Linked DNA regions of Homo sapiens: region 2 is linked to region 1. The links are contacts of gene promoters, found by promoter capture Hi-C in blood cells and fetal thymus (Javierre and others, 2016). All regions are on one chromosome and are shown on one strand. The core of a region is centred on a gene start or on the middle of the fragment in contact, and the rest is flanking DNA. Distances in the headings are between cores, read along the strand shown.

What was found. The method cuts DNA at HindIII sites, captures the fragments that hold promoters and counts their contacts. A CHiCAGO score of 5 or more calls a contact.
Region 2: a contact is called between the fragment with the promoter of FRMPD3-AS1 here and the fragment with the promoter of PRPS1 in region 1, in 1 of 17 cell types (megakaryocytes). The highest score is 5.1, in megakaryocytes.

What each region holds. Positions count from the first base shown.
Region 1 is chrX:107,624,661-107,632,093 of GRCh38, reverse strand. PRPS1 (phosphoribosyl pyrophosphate synthetase 1) reads right to left here and starts at 3,584. Exons shown (of 7, transcript NM_002764.4): 1 at 3,344-3,584. The coding sequence starts at 3,465. RefSeq lists a silencer at 3,697-3,746. The HindIII fragment of the contact is 4,384 bases long and covers 3,115-7,433 here.
Region 2 is chrX:107,542,953-107,550,385 of GRCh38, reverse strand. It overlaps FRMPD3-AS1 (FRMPD3 antisense RNA 1), which reads left to right and starts at 4,565. Exons shown (of 2, transcript NR_046750.1): 1 at 4,565-4,671. It overlaps FRMPD3 (FERM and PDZ domain containing 3), which reads right to left. Exons shown (of 15, transcript NM_001388459.1): 5 at 4,545-4,649; 6 at 230-337. The HindIII fragment of the contact is 5,600 bases long and covers 2,369-7,433 here.

The DNA.
Region 1 (7,433 bases), core at 2,335-4,834:
GAGTTATTCCTCATAGCAGTTTTGAGGGGATTAAACACAATGTATACTAAATGCTTAGCATGGAAACTAGCACATCTTAGGCATTCACTATACATTAAATATTATAGCCGGGCACGGTAGCTCACACCTATAATCCCAGCACTTTGGGAGGCCAAGGTGTGGGGGATCACCTGAGGTCAGGAGTTTGAAACCAGCCTGGCCAACATGGTGAAACCCTGTCTCTACTAAAAATACAAAATATTAGCTGGGCGTGGTGGCACGTGCCTGTAATCCCAGCTACTCGGGAGGCTGAGGCAGGAGAACTGCTTGAACCTGGGTGGCGGAGGTTGCAGTGAGCTGAGATCGCACCACTGCACTCCTGGGCAGTAAGAGTGAAACTCCGTCTCAAAAAATAAATACATAAATAAATATTATTAATATTGTATTACTGCTGATGAGACAGATTTGTTCAACTTTTCTGGGGAATAATTTGGCAACAGGTATCAAAAGCCTGAAAAATGGTATCTACCCTTTAACTTAATAATTACCTTCCTAGGGATTTATTCTAAGGAAATAATCAGAAATGGTCAAAGATTTATGTTCATGGATTTTCATATAAAAGCATTAGATCAAAAACTGGAAATGTCCAATAAGAATTTGGTTATATAAAATTATGGCATAACCATAAGGTAAGACTATATAGCTATTTAAAATTACATGAACTAGCCCACCTCAGTGGTGCATGCCTGTATTCTCAACTACTTGAGAGGCAGAGGCAGGCAGATCACTTGAGCCCGCGAGTTTGAGGATGCAGTGTGCTATGATTGTGCCTGTGAGTAGCTATTGGACTCCAGCCTGGGCAACATAGTGAGACCTCATCTCTAAAAAATAAATTAAAATCTTTAATAATAAAAAAAGAAAATCATATATACTAAATATTAAAGGGAGAAACTGTTCAAAATATATTGCTAAGTGAAGAGAGCTATAAATGTATTAAACATTCTTGAAAAAGTGTATCTTACACAAATATCTGGGAGGTCAGAAATGATAATGTGACATTTATGTCAGGTGGCAGAATTAAGAGGCATATCTTCTCCCTTCCGTGTTCTAAATTTTCCACATTTTCTGCAATATTATCACCACCCCTTCTTGTCAACATTTACTGTTGTACTTATTATGTTTTGGACAAGATCCTAAGAACTTTACTTCTATCTCATTTAATCCTCATAACAACAGTATGGGTAGGTACTACTTTACAGATTAGATTATTGGGGCAAAGAAAGGTTAAGGATTCAGATCCAAGTTCTCTGATTTCAGCACTTTTAACACCCACCCCCTCCGTGTGTGTGTGTGTGTGTGTGTGTGTGTGTGTGTGTTTCCTAAATAACCAGACAGCCAAGGATGATCCTTATGTTAGAAGAAAAGCTACTCTGCTCAAGAGAGCATCAACCAAGAGTCACCTGGGGGAGCAGTTATAGGGAGCAGTTACCATTTCTTCAGTATAGGAAAAACAAAGATAGGGGGAACTCCATAAAAAAAAATGTGATTATGTTCAATGAAGATTTCAGAATATCTAGGAAACAAGAAGCTAATGATTAAGCCAGAAACAAGAAAATCTAACCAGTCAGCAATTATCCATGTTGGACTTAATAGAAATCAATCAGTAGAAAACTAAGTTGTCCTCCCCCTCTCCTCTCCCAATATAGCCTCAGGTTCTGGGGTGCTGCATTATGCAGAGGGCAGAAGGATTAACACAAGGAGAAAATAAAGCTTTCATGCCTTCACATTTTTCCTAGACGCATAGGAAAAGGATTAAATATCCACAGGGGCCAAAGAAAACCTCTAAATGAAAAACATTCTTGTCCCCTAACTATATTGCCAATCACAAAGTCTAGTCCTGTTTTGTATTCTTTATTAAGGCCCATGAGCCATAATGGTTTGGAAAAATCTAAAGACAGCAGTTTGTAAGCCTCTTTTAACTAAGGTATTGCCTGGTTACAGATGGCAATGTTTACACTATCATTTGCATCACAATCAGTAGCACAATAATTCGGGAAGAAGCTGTCCATTATCGGTGACATTACTTTATCAGCTGGGTCTAAAAGAGATAAGGCGAGTTAAACTTGGAAATCAGTCCAAAGAAAGCAAAAAAGTAAGCAAAAACATTTAGGAAAAAATATTCGAAATATTCTTATCTGATTATTAGGTGAAAACTTTCCCCTTAACAAATCTGTAAGATTGTGGGCAGGGCTCTGATTTAATCGATAGGGTAACAATAAAATACAAATTACACCTATCAGAAACTAAAGATCCCACACTTAGGTGGAAGGGGCACTGAAATAATCAGGTAACCAAGTCATCTCTAAAACAGTCCCATGGTGCCGGTAGAGGGTGTAAGTCGGAGTCGAGGAAGCAAGTTTTACTGGCAAGGCAATGGAAAAAACGCAAGTTGCAATGCACTGTCCAATCCTAGTCTTCCACTACATTGCCTGTCCTCAATTATCTTTAACATTCAGGTATAAAATTGTTTCCTAAATTCCCTACACAGAGCTTAAAGAAGGAGCCAAGTCCAGGATGGACTCGGTTACTGAAAAATACGCTTTTGCATTATCTGTACCACTAGCTGCACTGGGGAAGGTCAAACATTCCAGAATTGAGATTTCCAAGATTTTTTGGATGGCTCAAGCTGAGATGCTGGCTATCAAGGATGCAGAGTCAACGCATCACTTTAACAAATCAACTAGATTTATGGCTCCAATTACTCAGGTAGATGATTCATAAGATGAGAAAAGCCAACGCTTGCTGATCTAAGGGAAGTCGTAATAATTTTGGCGCCTGCAGTATATAATGTCAGTTTCCCTCAACACCAAGCCGAACGGACCAACACCATTTCGAATCAAAAAGCTGCTTATTGGACTCTAGGAAAAGAAAGACCAGGAGAGCTCAGTACGCAGGTAGGCTCTCTAAATGCAAGCTAGTCTAAGAGCTGAAGCAACCCAGTCCAGCCTGGGTGGCTCAACAGCAAAGCCAAGCCACGTGTCCCTACCGCCCTGGCTAAGCGTCGGTCCCCTCTCGTCGCTCTATGCAGCCACTATCTATTGGGTCCCCCAGCCCTTGCCCTCAAACGCAGAAGCTTCGCCTCACACTCCATCTTTTGACTCCACCCCACCGCACGGTAAGAATGAACGTGACCCTCCCGCGAGAGGTAAAATAACGGAAACAGCCCGTGGGGTAGGCTAGTCACAGAGCTGCACCCTCTCCCCCCAACCCCCAGTCTGTTTGAGCTCAAGCGGCGACCCCATCCCTCCTATACTCTGCCGCCTGGGCAGGTGAGGTCTAGTCAGGGTCCCAACTTGGTCCTTACCAGGTCTCCTGGTTGCTGAATTTCTTAGTCACCACCTTGCCTAGCTCCAGGCCCAGGCGGTCAGCAATTTTCTGAGATAAGTCCTGGTGGGAGCTGCCGCTGAAGATTTTGATATTCGGCATCCTGGCCAACTACCCTAAGCACTCCACTAAGCGATCACGGCTGCTGCAGAGACCGGAACCGAAGTCGGCCACAGACTCAATACCAAGCGCTTTGCGTTGCTACTCCGCCATCTTACATTCCCGCCCGGCGCGCGGCTCTAAATTACCCAAAGCGGCGGAGGTGGGGTCAGCGGCGAAGTCCACACCCCGCTGGCAACGATTAGCTAAGAGGGAGCGAAGGGCGGGGTTTGGTCCTCGGTGTAGCTCTGCCTCCTTCCGATTCTCTCAGGTATTGGGTGAAGAGCATGAACGGGGGCGAGACTAACCCATAGCCCGGCCCCCTGTAGCTAGGCTGTTGGGGACAGGAGACGTTGGACTGGGGGTGGAGGGATGCTGGTGACGTCTGAGGCCAGATCGTTCCCGCTAGCGGGAAATCAACCATGCCTGCTTTTTTATTTCCCCTCCCTCAGCGCAGGAAAGTAAGTCTGGCTCTGGTTTACAGTTTCCTTTAAGAAAATCTGTTTATCAGGATGACAGCCACGAGTTTGCATGTTTCTGAACACATTTTTTATCTCTTTATAAGGATGGGGCTGAATTAAAACACTTTTACATCACAGACGTGCATGCAAGGAGTTTGCTTGCCCATTGTAATTGCAGTGTCGCCTTTGCCTGCAAGACAGTTTACATGGGGGAAGTGACTGAAGGCATGCCACCTGAATCATCCAAGAGACACTGCAAGAGAAAGTTGTTTTGTTTCTAGTGCTGGAACCAAGTATGTTGAAACAAGTGAAGGAAGATGGATTTTCCAAACTATCTGGACAATAAAGATCTAACTTTTATAGCCCTCGGAAAGGAAAGAAAGTATAGTGTTCTATGGGACTTCAGATAAAGAGCCCTGAAGGGATTTGAAAAAACCTGGGTTTTAGTCCTGTCTGCCTCATGTAAGCCTCAATGTCATCAGCTACATGTTGCTAATGTGGCCTTTTACACCATGTTTTATTATTTTTATAGCGATACTTGTTAATTGGACCTAAGTGAGCCTTTATTCTTGCACCATGTTTCCATTAAGCATATTTTAAGCATGGGTTAGGAGAAGATAAAAATCATACAATTCTGGAATCAAAAGTGACCATAGTGCTCATAACTACCAAATGTAAAAATAGAAGGGACCTCAGAGATCATATAGTCGTTTTACATATGATAAAACTGAGATGGAGGTGGGAGAGGGATTTATCTAAGTGGCAAAGGCAGAAAATACTCAAAGCAGCATCCTGTCTTTGTCTTACTGCTATTTTCAGCAGTGTCCATGGAGGACTTCTCCTTCTGACCTTTTTTGCACTTTTACAAGCTCAGAAATTTAATGTAGGCCCATGTATATAGGAATACTTGGAGAAGGAAGTAAACTGCAAGGCAGAATATTAGTAGTCTTCCATCATAGGCCATTCATCAAATATTTACTGAGTGTTCTATTGCATGCAAGGCAGTGTGCAAGGCGTTGAGGGGACTACAAAGTATTTGCCCCAAGGGATTCGTTCATTCAATAAATATTTAGTGAACATTCTTTATGTGCTAGGCCCTGTGTATTGGCACAAGAATACATTAGTAAACAATTAAAAATACCCTGCTGTCATGGAGTTTACATTCTCAAACAATAAACATGTAAATAAGCAAAATGCATAGTATGTCAAATGGCAATAAGTGTTGTGGAAAAAAAAATCAGGCAAGGAAAGTGGGATAATGTGCCAGAGTGTAGAGGAGAGGAGTACAATTTTAAGTAGGGTGGTCAGAGAAGACCTGTCTTGGAAGGTAACATTTGGGCAAAGACCTGAAGGAGGAAAAAAAAAACAAAAAAATGAGCCATGTTGATATCTCGATAAGCAAAGAGAACAGAAAGGGCAAATACCCTAAGGCAGATGTATCTCGCTTGTTTGAGGAATACCAATGCGGGACGAGTGTTGTGTGGTGGAGGTGGAATGTATCTATAAGAGAAAAGGAGGAAAGTGAGGTCAATGAGATAAGAGTGATTGGAGGCCGGCCAGGCACGGTAGCTCACGCCTGTAATCCCAGCACTCAGGGTGGCCGAGGTGGGCGGATCACTTGAGCTCAGGAGTTCAAGACCAGCCTGGGCAACGTGGCGAAACCTCGTCTCTACAAAAAATACAAAAATTAGCCAGGCGTGGTGGTGGGCACCTGTAGTCCCACTGAGGCAAGAGAATCACTTGAACTTGGGAGGCAGAGGTTGCAGCAGTGAGCGGAGATCGCACCACTGCACTCCAGCCTGGGCGACAGAGTGAGATTCTGTCTAAACAAAACAAAACAAAACAGTGATTGGGGGACTCAGGTGGGCACGATGGCTCATGTCTGTAATCCCAGTACTTTGGGAGGCCGAGGCGGGCGGATCACTCGAGCTCAGGATTTGCAGACCAGCCTGGGCAACATGGCAAAACCTTATCTCTACAAAAAATACAAAAATTAGCTGGGCATGGTGGCAAGCACCTGTAGTCCCAGCTTCTGGGGAGGCTGAAATGAGAGGATCACTTGAGCCTGGGAGGCAGAGATTGCAGTAAGCCGAGATCGCGCCACTGCCCTCCAGCCTGGGTGACAGAGAGAGACCCTGTCTCCAAAAAAAAAAAAAAAAAGGGATTGTGGGGAGAGTGCTGATCATGCAGAACCTTATAGGTTATTTTAGGGGTTTTTGCTTTAACTGAGTAAGAATTTTTAGCAAAGAGTGACATAATCTAACTTCCCTTTTAAAAAGATCACCCCAGCTACTGAGAACAGAGTGTAGGAGGCAAGATAGGAAGCAGGAAGACCGATTAGGAGTTAACTTCCAAAGAAAGTTGATAAGACATTTATACAAATAATTACAAAGCACAGACAATGTAATACGCTACCATAGAGAAGCCTGTGCTTGGATAATGTGGAGGCTGCTGTAACAAGGAGACTCTAAAATATAGCGGCTTTAGTAAGACAAATTATTTCTCTCTTGCATAACAGGCTGGCTGGTCTAAGCCAGTGGGATGATTCTGCTCCATGCTAGGTCATGGACACATCCACATTCTAGCTCAGAGAAGAGGTCTAGGCAAGGGATTTCCTTTTAAGCAAGTGAGATGAAATTTATCCATCCCACTTTCTCTCACATCCCTTTGGCAAGAGCTCAGTCACAATTCGCACCTAACTGCAAGAAAGACTAGGAAATGTTTTGTTAGGTGGCCCTGTTCCCAGAAAGAAGAGAGAATGAATTTTGGGTATGCAACTAGAAGTCTCCCATAAGGCCCAAACAAAATGCTCTGCAGGTCCAGAGGTAGAAGATATCACCTCTGCATGGAGTATCCTGGGAAATATTTTTGGAGGTAGAAGCACATGAACTAGGCCTTGATTGATGAGTAGGGTTTTGACAGGCAATGATTGAGAGGAGGTGGATCTCCCAGGCAGGAAGAAAAGATGAGGAAGCAGAGAGAGGTTTTGAAGAAGAGAAAATAGTTTAGTTTTGCTGGAATATCAAGTACCATATTGGGACTTCATTCCGCAGGCAATAGGAAGCCATTGACTGTTCTGGAGTAAGAGCATGACACGATCATAACTGTGCTTTAGGTAAACTTTTCTGTGTGGGGTGAAGAATAGAGAAGAGATTGGAGGCAGGCAAACCAGATTGGGAGAGCAAGTTAGTAATGTCATTAACTATGCCAGTAGCTGTAGGGTTTAAGAAGAGGAATGATAAAGACATTGTGAATCTGAGATTCACTAATCTCAGATTAAATTAAAATTAAATTAATTAAATTAAAATCTCAGATTAAATTAAAAGGGGTCCTTTTAGAGATTATGGACCCCTTTGAGAATTTTATGACCACTATAGATCCTCTCTCCAGCCACAAGTATTCCTCATTTTATCACACTTTGCTTTATTGTGCTTTGCAGATACTGCATTTTTTACAACTTGAAGGTTTATGGCAACCCTCTATTGAGCAAGTCTATTGATGCTATTTTTC
Region 2 (7,433 bases), core at 3,316-5,815, 83 kb after region 1:
ACACACGGTTTAACAATTACTAGCACACAGTTGGGCATGCAAACTTCTACCACCACTCTCATCTGGGACTGTGCATTTTTGCAGCCTTGTGCTAACAAGCATCCAGAGCTTAAAGGCCACCTTACTCCAGTGGCAAGCAGCTATGTGCAGACTCAGAGGAACACAGGACACACAACTGCATGTACTCTGGAGAGGGCAATGCTGACCAGGGGGAGGAGACTGTATGTACCTTAACAGTGGTCCGACCATCAAATGTGAATGACTTGATCTGCCCATTTTCTAAGAAAACCTTCAGGACATTAGGGATGAGGAGGAGAGCTTCCTTCTTCATCATTTTCTGTGAACAAGCAGGGAAAGGACAAGGAGACCGGCTCATTTAGAAGGAAGTAGGAAGCCAGAGGAAGGGTGTGAAAAAGGAGAGAGAAAAGGTGATGGAGACAGAGAGCCAAAGGTGTAGGAGGGCAGAGACAGAGGAAAGAGCAGATCAATAATACATGGGGACCAGAACCAAACTCCCCAACAAGACACTGAGCCATATCAAAAGCCCGCCTCCATTTGACATCACGGAGCACCCACATTCTACTGTAGTTCAAACCTCCACAGATCAGAGCAAAGGGATCACCACACACCCGCTGAAGGGCTGATGAGAGGCCTCCTTTGGAGTCTACCTCACCCACCTGATCTTATCTCTGACATTTTTTTAAACACCTTCTACAAAGCTTCTAGACTGATCTTATCTCCTGATACCTCCCTTTCCCTGAGGCCCTTCACAAGCCAAGATCACGTCCTGTCAAGGCCTTTGCTCTGCCTTTTCCCCTCCCTAGGCCCTTTCTGACCTGGCCCCTGCCTAGTCTCCAGAGTCACGTCTTGCTATTCCTAGTACCCACACCTCTTTCACACCTCCATACCTCTGATGATTCTTCATTATTCAGGGATGTCCCCCTCCCTGCACAACACTTAGCATCTCCGACCCTGAGACATGAAGTGCCAGTAGCACACCAAAGCATTGGGATGACCTGAAACACCCTCAGACATTTTCTTTTTTTTTTCTTTTTCTTTTTTTGAGACAGAGTCTCGCTCTGTCGCCCAGGTGGGAGTGCAGTGGTGTGATCTCGGCTCGCTGCAACCTCTGCCTCCTGAGTTCAAGTGATCCTCCTGCCTCAGCCTCTCTAGTAGTAGCTGGGATTACAGGCGAGAGTCACCATGCCTGGCCCTCAGACATTTTCAAAAGCTCTCTAGCAATGGGAGGTACTGACTCTGATTGAGACATTCTTAATAAAAATTCATTAAATAAAGACTGTTCTCTTTCTCTGAGGACTCTAAAAGAAAGAAAGAAAAAAAGCTGTTCCCTCTGCCTTTCTCTTTTCCTCTTTGGCAAACTCCTATTTATCCTTCAAAACCCAGCTCAAATATGTATTCTGTAAAGCCTTGGTCTAATATCATCAGATACTTGGACCTGGTCTTTCCATGCATTCCTATAGCAATTTATGCACGCTTCTCACAATGCTCTTACCGTATTTTGTTTTGTTTTGATTTCTTTTTGAGACAGGGTCTCGCTCTATTGCCTAGGCTGGAGTGCAGTGGTGCAATCACAGCTCACTGCAGCCTCAAACTCCTGGGCTCAAGTGATCCTTCTACCTCAGCCTCCCAAATAGCTACGACTACAGGCATGTGCCACTACACCTAGCTAAATTTTTTACTTTTTGTAGAGACAGGGTCTCACTATGCTGCCGAAACTCACCTTTATCATATTTTTGAAGGATATTTGTCTTTCACAATCAAATGGTGAAATGAGAGCACAAAGACCATGTCCTATTTATCTTTGTAGTCCCAACACTAAACAAAGTTCCTGGCACACATTTGGTGCGCAATAAATGGCTGCTGAATGAATGGGCAGTAGGTGCTTGATGTGCACTTACTGAATGATCACTCTCATCCCAACCATTTCCCTGGGCCAACATCATCATCAGTTCTATAGGAATGGAAAAGCTGCAGAGATAACCAGATTCCTTAATTCACTGGGCATTCATTGAACCTCTACTGTATGCCCAACACTATGCTAAGTCTCTATGAGAGCTACAGGAGATTTAAATCCAGTCTTAAATTCTTGTTGTAGTGACTTGGCACACATACACATTATAAAACCAAAGCAAACCAACAGGTATAAGATGGCTAAAGTTTCCTAGATAAGGCAAATTGGATTTTGATTTTGAAGGAGACAGTGGGTGTGGATGATTTGAGAAGCCAGATGAGAACAGTCTAGACCTAGAGACTGTCATGGATCATGGACAAAGCATGGAAAGAGGAACAAGCAAATCCTCCTGGGTTGGGGTATGGTTGATGGTGGTGAGGAGCCAAGAGACAAGCTTGGCTGTGGAAACAAGGTGGGAAGTGGTGGGATATAAAATTGGAAGAGTGTGACTCCCTGGTCCCCTCCCTGATCTTGAGATGCCTTGCTCCTGCCAGGCCCAGCGGCCCCGGATCCCAGTGGTGGCAGGTTTTATTTAGCACACTGGGTTGGACTCAGATAATTACTTAATTGAATTTGCTTAAAAATAGAGCTGGCAAGGATCACCCACAGGATTTATTTTTGCTCTGGCTGCTTAATAAAGCCTTGGAACACGAAAGGAAAGGGTTGATAGGAGAGCCTGGAGTCACTTGGGCCTGGACTCCCCCGGCTCCCGACCTGTGATGAGGCTGCTATGGTCCATACTGGCGGCAGCATGGAGGAGGGTGATGTTGTAACACCAGGTAATTTCACGAGTGCAGTGAGAGTTGGAAGATTGATGTCTGTCTCTCACCCAGACAAGAGCCTCACACTATGCCTGGTGGCCTGTCCGAGAGAATGAGGTCACTCTAGGTGGGTCCTAGCTACTCTGTGGCATTTGCATTCAGAATAGACTGGAGTGGGGGGCATCGTTACGCCTGTAGACTAGCTGTGCCTGTAACCTAGCTGTGACGTATGGAGAGGGGAATCATGGTGGAAGAAGGAGAAAGTGGAGAAGGGGAAGTAGAAGGGAGAGGAAGAGAAGAGAGGGGAGGGGAGTGGGGAGGAAGGGAAGGAGTTCTTCACTGGGTGGCCTGCCCTTGACTGATTACTCTGCAATGTTGAGATGGCATAGGATAAGCCTGTTCATACTTACCAAATCCAAGTCATACGTCCTCTGGGTTTTCAAGCATTCAGGACACACATATCCTCCTGGTGACTTGGACCTCGGGGTCTGTTTCACCCTGATTTGCAGGGACTCCATATTACTCCTTTTCCCCTCTGCTCATCAATGATCACTTCTCTTAAAACTTTTCTTCTAGGATTGACACAGATCCCAACCATCAATTATTCAGACAGCTTGCCCAGTGGGGTCCTGTAGTCCCCTGGGTTTGCCAGCCTTCCTCATGCAGAGATGGAGGAGGGCATAGACTGAGTTTGGGAATGAGAGTCAGGGAAATGGAGATGGAAGACACCTGTGTCCTCTATACCTTCTTCTCACTAATTCTGCCTTAAATAATATAGAAGCGCCTGGCACCCTGCTGATTTCCCTGCTCTGGGCCTGCTATCTTCTCCCAACAACTGTGGCTGTTCCTCAGTACGTAAATGCCAAGGGCCTCCAGACAGCTCTGCCCATCACAGCTATCAAAAGCACACAAGTGCCTGTTAGCTCTAGCTATCCCCTCTGTCCCCACCAGGTTATCACTAACTTCTGCAGATTCCTGAAGGACTCGGCCAGAATGCATGACTGCTTAACACACTTCTTTTCTGCTCTTCACCTGCCTCTTCTCATTTGCACATCTGGAGCCGACAGTTCACTGCATGTAAACCTCCCAAAGCAGTGAGAAACACTGTGGCTGGCCAAGACTCCCCAAATTGGCAGCTGCATGGCATGGGCTGTCAAATATTACCTGTCTTTCGAAACAATACCACCCCGTAGTAGATTTTGTATTGTCTCAATCTGAACCTCTTGTCCCCCTCAACATTGCTGAGAGGTATCTGGTAGCAGGGAACAGGTATTTATTTTGCCTCCCCTCTGGTGCTAAGAACATAGCAGGTGCCTAATAAAAACTTGGTGACTTAATGAGAGTCTGTATCATTTCCTTTAGGCAACTTTACTCACCACTGCATGGCCTTTTCTGGTCAAGATGTGGAGTTGCAAGATCACTTAAATGTGAAGAGAGCTCAATTTCACCAGCCACTCATTCCCTGAGTCTTCAGGAAGCCATTATTTCCTTCCTGTTTCTATCAAGTAGCAAAAGATGTTTATGGAGCACTTGCTTTGAGTGTAAGCTACTGTGTTAGGGATGGAAATTTCTCTAAGCATCAGAAGGATCTTGAGTGAATCAATATATATTCCTTCTCCCCACAATGCCTGGGGCCTCTCTGGATGTCACGTATCCCTCTTCACTCACTACTTTTCCCCCTCCAGCACCTGGACGCTCCCACTCTAACCCATTCGGAAAGCTGTCCACTATAAGAAGCCCCAGAGCGAGAGCTTGACAGCCAGGCAGATTATGGCCAGGGGCTGAGGAGAGGGAGCCAAAGCTACACTTACTGCATCTGTTTCTCCAACTGCCACCTGCTCAGAAAATCGAACCTTCACAGGATTGGACCTCAACTTGGCCTTCTTCGCAGCACTGATGAAAGCAGATTTGGGGGACTGGAAAAAGAACAGAGAGATGGTGAGTTCTCCATATCTAGGGAAAGCCTAACCTTTGTCACGTCAGAGTTAAGATGTCCCAGTACAGGTACACTTTGCATTACTGATCAAGGAGTCAATAAACAAATATTAATTACCTATTAGTTGCAAGGCAATGTGCTAAATGCTTCCCTATGTAATTGGTGTGTTCTGAAACAGCTGGGCATGAATTGAATTTGGGTAGATTGAACCCCATTATTAATACTCTAGGCCTAGGGGAGTTTGCAAAAGTTCTTTAGTAATAACATACATTGAGTTTTTATATATTTGGTTTTCTTACAGTGAGATAGACCTAAAGGGTGTCTTTTTATTATTATTATTATATCTGAATATAAGCATCCCAAATAATTTACAGAAATGATCTTGTTCACCTCACAGACATGTCCTGCCCCTAGGAAGGAGTTGCATAATAAATACTATTTTAGATGTGGGAGAAAGGAGACCTAGCACTCCAAAAGGATTTATCCACAGTTACTACACTATTGGGGAATAGAGATGTGAGAGATTTAACCCAAGTCTTCTGGCTTTCTAGTTTTGGGCTCTGCACCACTTTGTTTATCCAATTCTGTAAGAAATGCCCAAAAAATCAGCCAGGCTTGTATTTATTTATTTATTTTTAGACGGAGTTTCACTCTTGTCGCCTAGGCTGGAGTGCAATGGTGCAATCTCGGCTCACTGCAACCTCCGCTCCCTGGGTTCAAGCGATTCTCCAGCCTTGCCTCCTGAGTAGCTGGGATTACAGTCATGTGCCACCACACCCAGCTAATTTTGTATTTTTAGTAGAGATGGGGTCTCACCATGTTGGCCAGGCTGGTCTTGAACTCCTGACCTTAGGTGATCCACCTGCCTCAGCCTCCCAAAGTACTGGGCTTACAGGCCACCATGCCTGGCTGGCTTTTTAGTTCTTGAAAACTCTCCCACAATTTTATCAGAAGCATGATTAGCAAACACTGGAAACTAAGCCTTTCCTGGGTGCCCCTTGGATTCTAGCTCCCTGCTGAGCTCTGTAAGGCCCAGCAATTAGGAATACAGGAGTCGTGCTGAGGGGCATCCTCATTGTCTTTGGGGGGGCGTTTATTCATTCTTTTGACAAATTTAGCAAGGGCCTACTACATGCCACACACTGTTCTAGGTGATGAGGGATAGAGCAGTGAATAAGACAGACAAAACTCCCTGGCCTCATGGAGCATCCATTCCAGCAGGAATAGACAGACGATAAATATCTTTTAGGTAGCAAAGAAGGACTTTGAGGAAAAATAAGGCAGGGTAAAGGACTACACAAGAGAATGAGTGAGTTAGAGTGGGAGTAGTGAGGGTATTATTTTAGCAATTTTGAAATACATAATACATTATTATTAACTATAGTCATCATGCTGTGCAATAGATCTCAAAAACTTATTCCTCCTGTCTAACTGAGCCTTTGTATCCTTTGAACAGCATCTCCCCACTCCCTCCCAACCTTAGCCTCTAGTGATCACCATTCTATGCTCCACTTCTATGATTTTGACTTTTTTAGATTCCGCATGTAAGTGAGATCATGTGGTATTTGTCTTTCTGTGTCTGGCTTATAATAATTATTATTATTATTTCACTTAGGATAATGTCTTCCAAGTTCATCCATGTTGTAGCAAATGACAGGATTTACTTCTTCTTAAAGACTGAATAGTATTCCACTGTGTATTTATACCACATTTTCTTCATCCATTCATCTGTTGATGGCAGACACTTAGGTTGTTTCCCTATCTTGGCTATGGTGAATAGTGCTGCCACGAACATGGGAATGCAGATGGCTCTTTGGCATACTAATTTCAATTCCCTTGGATATATATCCACAAGTAGGATTGTGCGGGTTATATTTTTAATTTTTTTTTTTTTTTTTTCTGAGAAGGAGTCTTGCTCTGTCGCCCAGGCTAGAGTGCAGTGGTGCGATCTCGGCTCACTGCAACCTCTGTCTCCGCGGTTCAAGTGATTCCCCTGCCTCAGTCTCCCGAGTAGCTGGGATTACAGGCAGGCATCACCATGCCCAGCTAATTTTTGTATTTTTGGTAGAGACGGGGTTTCACCATGTTGGCCAGGCTGGTCTCGAACTACTGACCTCAAGTGATCCACCCACTTCGGCCTCCCAAAGTGCTGGGATACAGGTATGAGCCACGGCGCCCGGCCACTGGGGGAGGTTATTTTAGACAGGATGGTCAGGGAAGACCTCTCTGAGGATGAGACATTAAGCAGAAACTTAAGGAAGTGAGGGAGAGACAGCCACCAGGTTATCTGGAGAAAGGCTTCTGGGCAGAAACTACAGTAAAGGCCCTGAAGTGAATTGAGGTGTATGAAGAACAGCAAGGAAGGCCAAGGTGGCTGGAGTGGCGTGATGGAGGGGGAGCAAGAGGGGAGATGCTCAGAGAGGCAGCTGGGGGCTGGGTCATGTAGGACCTTGTAAACCACGGTGAGAACTTTGGATTTCACTCCACTAGAGGGATTTGATTGAACAGAGTCTGATGTGCATTTTAAAAGGAAGCCTCTGGTTGCTGTGTGGAAAACAGAGTGTAGAAGGGCAATGGCAAGAGCATGGAGACCAGTTGGGGGTCTCTAAGTACAATATTTGTAACTGCAATAATATGGTTAAAACATAATGGAGGCTTGGGCTAGGATGGTACTGATGGAGTTGAAAAGTGAATGAATTCTGGATATATTTTGAATACTGAATTAGGATGATATGTTGACTGATTGGATATGAGAGTGAGAAAA